2 separate regions of the Homo sapiens genome follow, and region 1 is linked to region 2. The links are contacts of gene promoters, found by promoter capture Hi-C in blood cells and fetal thymus (Javierre and others, 2016). All regions are on one chromosome and are shown on one strand. The core of a region is centred on a gene start or on the middle of the fragment in contact, and the rest is flanking DNA. Distances in the headings are between cores, read along the strand shown. Region 1 overlaps LOC101929650 (a long non-coding RNA gene). Region 2 holds the start of WDR45B (WD repeat domain 45B).

Region 1 (4,190 bases), core at 740-3,239, 530 kb before region 2:
AGCAGCCCAGTTTCATCACCTCCGATGGCCAACGGCGGCACAGATGGTCTGCGTGAAGAAACACGAGCCCTGCTGTCTCGGGCGTCGGTGCCTTTGTGGCAGCACTGGCATCTCTCTTTCCTCAAAGTTTAAATTCTGTTTTGATGTCAGCAACACGTCAACACTCATATTCTAGGGAGCAAATTTCTCCTTCTGCTCCTTATGGCTAATGCAAAAGTAAACGCCAATTTACTTTTGTCTAAATTATTGAAAATTCAAGTGGAATCACATAGGATTCAGATAAATAGGATTTTCCTGTTTTTGCTGTCGTCTTCTTAAAATGGCACATAAGCTTCCCTCCCCCTCCACTCACCCCGTGACTTCCTTCTGGTCCACACCCTCCCTCAGGGCCCAGCATCTTCTCAGAGGGTGTAGAAACTCGAACTTTCACAAAACACAGAGGCCAGCCCGGCCCTGTCCTGAGCCGGTCTCATTATTTCCTGTCTGCGGACAGGCCCAGACCTCAAGGAGACTACACACTGTGAGACTGTCTTTGCCACAGGCTACCCTGGCCCAAGGTGGAGGAGCAAAGCCACCCCACAGGCCTCCCAGACATACCCCAACCGCAGCTGGAGGTGAGCGTCTCTCTGCCTGGACCTGCTGTGCTCATCAAATCGACGGCAGCCTGCACGGACCACAGGGGCTTGTGAGTTCCTGACGCTGCCCCGCCAGTTACTTTAGCCAGGGCGTTTGCCCTCCTGTGGAAGTTCAATGTCTTCATGTAAAACAAAGGCAATTGATACCTCCAGGGCCCTGGCACTCCAGCTGTCTGTCTCTGGTGACTGGACCTTCTCTGGATAGCTGCACAGGACCTGGTTCTCCGGGCCATCTGGGACCCTCTGTGCTAGGCCCTAACTTCCAGAAGGCTCAGTCACACTTATTCCCCTTCTCACACACGAGCAGTGAGTCTGTGTGCACGTGGGAGAGCTCCGCTGGGTCCTGGTGCTAAGCTCTCTGGTGGGTGCTGCAAGGTTGTCCGAGCTCTCCAGGTCGCCCCTCCAAGGTGGCTGACAAACATAAGTTCTGTCCCAACCATGGCTCCTGAGTGCCTGTTGTCTACCCCTCACCCATCCCAGCAAACAGCAGCCACTCAGCAAGCCCTTCCTGGAGGGATCCACATCCTGAAATGGCCCCCCAGTGTGGGAAAAGCCCAGAGCGCCACGCTGACACCCGGAGCCCAGGGCCGACAGTGGCAGCTTCTGCTGGGGGTCATGTGGGTCAGGGCACTGCTCCCCACCCTCAGGTGATGCCCGAATGCCCTCCAGGAATGACACAGAGGTGGCATCTGGGTGGTGGACATACACCCCCAGGTGTGGAATACAGGCCCATCCCCGCTGTACCCCCCGGGTGTGGAAAGCCAGGCCCATCCCCCCTGCACCCCCCCAGGCGTGGAAAGCCAGGCCCATCCCCCCTGCACCCCCCAGGCGTGGAAAGCCAGGCCCATCCCCCCTGCACCCCCCAGGCGTGGAAAGCCAGGCCCATCCCCCCTGCACCCCCCAGGCGTGGAAAGCCAGGCCCATCCCCCCTGCACCCCCCAGGCGTGGAAAGCCAGGCCCATCCCCCCTGCACCCCCCAGGCGTGGAAAGCCAGGCCCATCCCCCCTGCACCCCCCAGGCGTGGAAAGCCAGGCCCATCCCCCCTGCACCCCCCAGGCGTGGAAAGCCAGGCCCATCCCCCCTGCACCCCCCAGGCGTGGAAAGCCAGGCCCATCCCCCCTGCACCCCCCAGGCGTGGAAAGCCAGGCCCATCCCCCCTGCACCCCCCAGGCGTGGAAAGCCAGGCCCATCCCCCCTGCATCCCCCAGGCGTGGAAAGCCAGGCCCATCCCCCCTGCACCCCCCAGGCATGGAAAGCCAGGCCTGTTCCCCACCACCAGTGCTCACTCAGGAACTGCACACATGAGGATACCCAGCTGCCAGCTGAATCCCTCAGACAGGCCACTCAGGGAGCATCTGCTTGTCTTCAGGGATCTGCAGAGTGAGCATCTGACCCCTCCCTCCAAGAAGGGCAAAGGGTTTCTCTCTGCATGTTGGGGTGATCGAGGAAGGTAAGCTCATCAAGGAGTGAGCAGACCCGCTGGGCCAGGATGTTTGGGGCCCTGGGTGGGTGGCATCTGGTCTTTGAGGGGGAGGCTGCACATGGCTTACCAGAGCTGAACCCTTGTCATCATGGCTGGAGAGTCTCAATCAAACCCAGTGTCTCAGTGTGGCTCAGGGGAGTGAAGATGCCCTAGTGGAGGTCACCATGACCTACAACCATCAGACAAGACCAGGGGCCTCCCCAGGTTTCAGGGTTTGCAGAGCTTTTCCAACACACAAATGTCTGTAGCTGGAGGCCCCACAGACACCTCGAACTCAAGAGGGCACAAAATTGAGCCCATCGCTGACCCCTCCAATCGGCCCCCTCCAGTGACGTGAATGTCAGCCGTCGAGGACTCTTCCGGATCTCCTTCTCCCCGCCTCACACCAACCAACCCCAAGCCAGTCCCACCCCCCAAGTCCTGATTGAACGGGCTGTTTCCCCCTGGCCCAGCTCTGGCAAAGCCGCCTCTCACGGCGACCAGCTCATTCCTCTGTTCAGAGCTCTATGGTGGTCCTGGGCTCAGGGAGGCCAGACTTGTCGAGAACCCCTATTTTAATTGCCCCCAAATTTCCTCTCTAAATACCAGCTCTGGCCCCTCTGCACATCACCCGTAAGTCCCAGCCTCACAGAAACAAGAGGAGTCAAGGTTCTGGGTCCACGCAGTGTACTCACGGTGGCGGAGTGCGGGCGACCGATGCCCAGGGTTTTGAAAAATGTGCTTTGTGTGTTTTCTCTGTTGTTGTTCTTTCAGAGGGGAGTGTAAATCTACTTCTGATCCCTGTCTGGGGCAGAGGCTGTGGCTCTCGGGTGCATGAACTTCAGCTTGGCCGAGTCCTAGCCGCCAGGTGCTGCCATCCCTGCTGCCCTCACTGCCTCCAGCAGGGTCACACCAGGCAGCGCACACCTGTCTGGCAGGTATGATGGATCTGTCTGCTGCTTTAAATTCCTCTGAAAATTGCCTATTAATATCATCTGTCCATTCATCCACCGGAGTTCCTGTCTTTTTCTTATGAATTGGGGGAATTTATTGTATGTTCCTAATTAATCCCTAATTGGGTTTAGAAGTCGTGCATATCTCATCCCGACCTGTCTTGGTTACTTTTGTGGCAACATTTTTATATCATCCATGACTAAGGGGGCACCACTGAAATGAAGTGGGTGCCACCGCTGAGCTCCCCGTGCAGAGGAAGAAACTAAGGCTCAGAGATGCTGAGCGCTTGCTGCAGGTCCCCTGGCCAGTCGGGGAAGGAGGTGGGATTCACACCAGGCCCTGTGCTCTGACTTTGCCAGTCCCTGCTCTACAAGACTCAATGCCAACACCCAACGGTGAGTCCCGTGAACCCCAGGTGGCCTTCACCCCAGCTCTGTGAGGTGCCCAGAGGGAATAATCGATGGTTGTTGAATCCAAGTTTTTGCATTGTGGAAGAGGTTTTGTTTTCACTGAAATACCCAAAAGGTCAAATGCGGCAAAATCACTTAAAACTGGTCTCTTCCACGAGTAGCTCTTGCGGGAGAAAGGGAAGCTTCTGGATAAACTCAAGCCGCAGGGACTCCTGAGCCAGCTGGAAAGGCAGGCTGTGAGGAGGACATGGGGCCTGTGCAACCTGCATCCGTGCGTCAGGGCCTCACAGCCAAAACCAGCTTCTGTGTCCTGTTTTCTCCAAAGGTTGGCTCTTGAAAGCAGGGTCACCTCCTGAAAAGCCAGTGTTTTCCACCATGCCAACAAAATGAAATAAAGAGTCTGGCACTGGGGCGGGAGTCACAGGCCACCAGCCGGGGGGGCTGAGGATGTGGCCCGTGTGTTGTCAGGGAAGGCAGGCGCCAAGCACCTGGCACCAGTAGCGCCTTTGTTGGGCGCCTGGGAGATTGTTGTTTAAAACGTTTAAAATAATAATAAAAAGCGAAAGTCCTTCCAAGAGGGAGGAGAAGAAAGCTGCGCCAAGAGGAAGGTGGGAGAACATCAAGCTCATCCATCCTTATCCGTGTAAATAAAAAGAAATGTGAAGTGGTCTTTAAGCGACAGAGGAAACTGAGAATAAAAGCACTTCAGAGCTGCCTCACTGTTAGCCT
Region 2 (4,296 bases), core at 1,289-3,788:
AAAGCCCCACAGGCTGGTGGCTTGGACAACAGCCTGTGTTCCTTCCCAGGCTGGGAGGCTCTGGGGAAGAACCGTTCATGCCTCTCCCGGCTCCTGGTGACCCCACGATTCCTGCACTTGCTGACTTAGGGCTGAGCACTCCAGTCCCACTGGCTGCTGTCCCCTGTATCTCCTCCATTCCTGTCTCCTCCAAGGGTGCCGGTCACCAGCTTTAAGGCCCACCCCAAATCCAGGATGATCTTATCTCGAGATCCTTAATTACTTCTGCAATGATTCTTTACCTAAAGAAGCCCCTATTCTCAGGTTCTGGGTGGACCTATCTTTTTTTTTTTTTTTTTTTGCGACAGAGTCTTGCTGTGTTGCCCAGGCTGGAGTGTAGTGGCACAATCTCAGTTCAGTGCAGCCTCAGCCTCAATCTCCTGGGCTCAAGCCATCCTCCCTCCTCAGCCCCCCAGGACACATCTTTAGAGGGTCACCATTCAACGCACTGTGGTGGGCAAGGCTGCTTTGAGTTTCCTGGTTAGGATACAACCAGCGCTGTGTGTGGATGTCCACACATGCCCCCGCCCCCGGCTGTACAGCCACCGGGAGACTGAGTAAAATGTGAACTGAAGGAGGCCCCAAGGGTGGCAAGCAGAGAAATGAAGGGAAATGTCCCTTACCCACGCCTCTCTCCTTCCCCCACGTGACACTTCTCACAGCAGGTACCGGTACGTGTGCACAGAGGAGAACCCAGTGCCCTTCAGGGAAGAGGGTGCTGAGCCCCTGGACCGCACTTAGGTCTCGCCCCAGCTCTGTGATTTGGACCTGGGCCCCCGAGCCCTAGTCACAGCCGGGGCGGCCCAACTCGCTCCGCCATCGGAAGGCTTCTGGTCGCTCTCAGGGAGGAGCCCCTCTCGTATGGGAATCGAGGTGTTCAATGCCCACGATGCGGAGACCGCCTGGCCCGAGTGGGCCAGTGATCTCAGCTTACAGTCCAGCTCCTTCCTCCCCATGGCTAAGAGGTCAGCACCAGCTCAGGCAAGTGGCGAGGGTGGGATGAGGATGACAGACGGGGTGGAGGCAGGTGGCTGCGAGGGGACAGTGTCAGGACCTCCTAGGAGATCAGGTGTGCTGCAGGGAACAGGGAGAGCCTAGGAGGGGACAGGAAAGTGAGGAGGGGGAGTGGAGAGGACTCCCTGGGCAAGAGACACGAGGGCCAGCACTCAGGCCTCCACAGCCATCCACTGCATGAGCCAAGCCCAGGGACAAAGCTCTGTGACCAGGATGCCCCCAGCAGCCTGACCCTAAGAGTTGAGAACTGTGCCCTGTGAGCAATGTGACCTGAGGGTCCCGGAGTCCTGCGGGGGCTGTGCTGTGTGAGGGCCACCTGTCCTTTAGGTGGGGTACTAAGGGGTTGTGTCCTCTATGGGCTGTGTCGTGGGGGGGCTGTGTGTCCTCTGGGGGGCTATGTGTCCTGGGAAGGTCCCTGTGTCCTGGGAAGGTCTCTGTGACCTGGCGGTCTGTGTGTCCTGGGGGGGCTGTGTGTCTTAGGGGGACCTCTGTGTCTTCTGGGGGAATATGTGCCCTGGAAAGGACTCTGTGTACTGGGGGAGGCTGTGTGTCTTAGGGGGGCTGTGTCCTGGGGGGGTTTCTGTGTCCCGGGGGGGCTGTGTGTCCTGGGAGTGCTGTGTCCTGGGGGACCTCTGTGTCCTGGGGGCACTGTGTGTCCTGGGGGGACCTCTGTGTCCTGGAGACTGCGTGTCTTGGGGGTCCTCTGTGTCCTGGGGGGTCTCTGTCCTGGGGACTGTGTGTCTTGGGCACCCTCTGCGTCCTGCAGGAGCTGCGTGTCCTGGGGGGGCTGAGTGACTTGGGGGCCCTCTGTGTCCTGGGGGTCTCTGTCTCCTGAAGGGGGACCCTAGTATTGTGGCGCTTCTGGGCTTGCCTCTCATGAGGGATGATGCACCGGGCCTCAGTTTTGGGTCAGCCTCCTTTACCGGCTCTCCCCCCTTCCTCCGACCGTCAGGTATCCGTGCCAAGCCCTCAACGGGCCATCCTCCTTCCCGCGGCGACCCCGCGCATGACAAGGCCAGACCCTCCCGCGAACGTGCTCTGCGCTCCCGCCTGGCCCCTCCCCGCCCCGCCCCTCCCCCTCCTCCCCGCCCCGCCTCGCTCCGCCCCTCCCCGCCTCCGCCCCGCCCCGCCCGCCCTGCCTCTCCCCGCCTTTCCTCGCCTCGCCCCGCCCCGCCCCGCCCCCTCCTCCCCGCCCCGCCTCGCTCCGCCTCTCCCCGCCTCATCCCGCCCCGCCCGCCCTGCCTCTCCCCGCCTCATCCCGCCCCGCCCGCCCTGCCTCTCCCCGCCTTTCCTCGCCTCGCCTCGCCTCGCCCCGCCCCGCCCCTCCCCGCCCTGCCTCGCCTCGTCTCGCCTCGCTTCGGTTAGATGCGCTCGGCGCTCCATAGGCTCCCTGGTGGGGCGCGGGCGCGCGCACGGACGTCCAGCACGCACGCACGCACGTCCAGCACACACGCACATCCAGCACGCACGCACGTACGTCCGGCACTTCCGGCCGCGGCGGCCTCAGCGCCGGCCCGAAGGGACCAGGCCGCCGTCCCCAGCGAGAGGCATGCAGCGCTGAGGAGCGGCGACCCAGCACGGCGGCGCCATGAACCTCCTGCCGTGTAACCCTCACGGCAACGGGCTGCTCTACGCCGGCTTCAACCAGGACCACGGTGAGGAGGCGCGGCCCTGTCGCCTTGCCCGGCCGGGCCTTCCCGCAGCCCGGGGTCCCCGGCTCTCAGGCCTCTCCTGGGCGCCCCTTTCCGGCCAGGCCTTCCACCCGGGACCCCGGCCCCGCCCGAGCTCCCCTCCGAAGCCCCCGGCCCCGGCCCTCGCCGCTGCTCCCAGCCCGAGCCGGGGTCCGGACCAGGCCCGAACCGGCTCCCACCTTCCTGGCCTTTCGCGCTCCCCCACCCCCCGGGTTGTGACCGCTCCCAGCCGGCCGTCCCGGGCCGAGGTCGAGGTCGGTGGGAGACGGCACAGAACCCCAGCCTCCTGCGCGGACGCCCCTCCCCGCGCGCCACGCCCACTCGGGTTCCCTGGCTCCCTGCGGGCTCCACGGTTATCGGGATTTTCCCCACAGCGTGATTGACGCCCTGCCCAGAACCCCGTTTTGCCCCCTGTTCCTTTCAGGGTCTTTAGTAGGTAGCCCGTGGCTGAGCTGACTTCGCTTGGGTTTACTGGAGCCGCGGAGCCGGCGTCTCCGACGCCTCTGGTGGCGAGTGGCGCGGGTGGGGTGCAGGTCTCACCTTTCCCGTCGGTTTCCATCGGAAAATGTCACTCTCCCCACCCCCACTCCCCGGGATTTTTCTTCGTGTTTGGTGGAGTCAAAGGACTTAAGGGAGGCCTTTGAGGGAAATCTTACTTCTTTTCCCATGTCGGAATCCAGGTGTAAGCACTGGATGATTTAAAGCGCCCAGGGAAGGTGACCTCCTTCCCCGCAGGTGCTTCGGAGCTGCGGGGGATGCGGCCGGGGCGGCGCGGTCGGATTCCCGCGGGAGGCGGGCGGGACCTGGATTCGGATGGTTGCCTCCTCACCTCCCATTTGAAGGGCGCGCTTCCCAAAGGTCCTGATGGGGAGGAAAAGGAATGTCCGTTATTCCGAGACAGGCTTCTGCGAGGCTTTACATGTTGGCTTTGGAAGTTTTGTTTTTGAAGAGAATCCAGGCAGGTGCTGTATGATCCCGTATATGTGAAGACAATTTTATTTATTTATTTATTTCATTTTGAGACGGAGTCTCATTCTGTCGCCCAGCCTGGTGCGATCTCGACTCACTGCAACCTCCTCCTCCCGGGTTCACGCCATTCTCCTGCCTCAGGCTCCTGAGTAGCTGGGATTACAGGCGCCTGCCTCCACGCCCGGCTACTTTTTGTATTTTTAGTAGAGACGGGGTTTCACCATGTTGGCCAGGCTGGTCTCAATCTGACCTCAGGTGATCCACCCGCCTCGGCCTCCCAAAGTGCTGGGATTACAGGCGTGAGCCACTGCGCCCGGCCGGATTACACATATTTGAAAGAACTCCCTCTCAGTGATTTTGATGCCTGATGCCCTGGGACCAGTCAGGCTTCCTGGGCGCTGCCAGCTTCCCCAGGGTTGTGTGCTGGGGTTTCTCCGGAAGAAAGTTTTGCTGAGATGGTAAGGGAGATGCCTAGCCTTCTCAGAGGGTGGTTTCCAACCATCTGGTGTTTGTAATGCCTTCTTTTTAGTGAAGTGTGCTATACCTGTAGAAGGGTGGATATATCATAAGTGTTCAGGTGATG

What was found. Contacts are between HindIII fragments. The CHiCAGO score rates a contact against its expected background, and 5 or more counts as called.
Region 1: a contact is called between a fragment that was not itself captured here and the fragment with the promoter of WDR45B in region 2, in 1 of 17 cell types (erythroblasts). The highest score is 5.5, in erythroblasts.

What each region holds. Positions count from the first base shown.
Region 1 is chr17:83,179,191-83,183,380 of GRCh38, reverse strand. All of the region lies in intron 2 of LOC101929650 (a long non-coding RNA gene), which reads right to left. Among named protein-coding and RNA genes, the nearest start is that of METRNL, 100 kb to the right of the region's middle. The HindIII fragment of the contact is 3,312 bases long and covers 334-3,645 here.
Region 2 is chr17:82,646,686-82,650,981 of GRCh38, reverse strand. WDR45B (WD repeat domain 45B) reads left to right here and starts at 2,538. Exons shown (of 10, transcript NM_019613.4): 1 at 2,538-2,708. The coding sequence starts at 2,642. RefSeq lists enhancers at 1,946-2,015, 2,394-2,893 and silencers at 2,306-2,375, 2,976-3,025, 3,036-3,085. The HindIII fragment of the contact is 18,003 bases long and covers 1-4,296 here.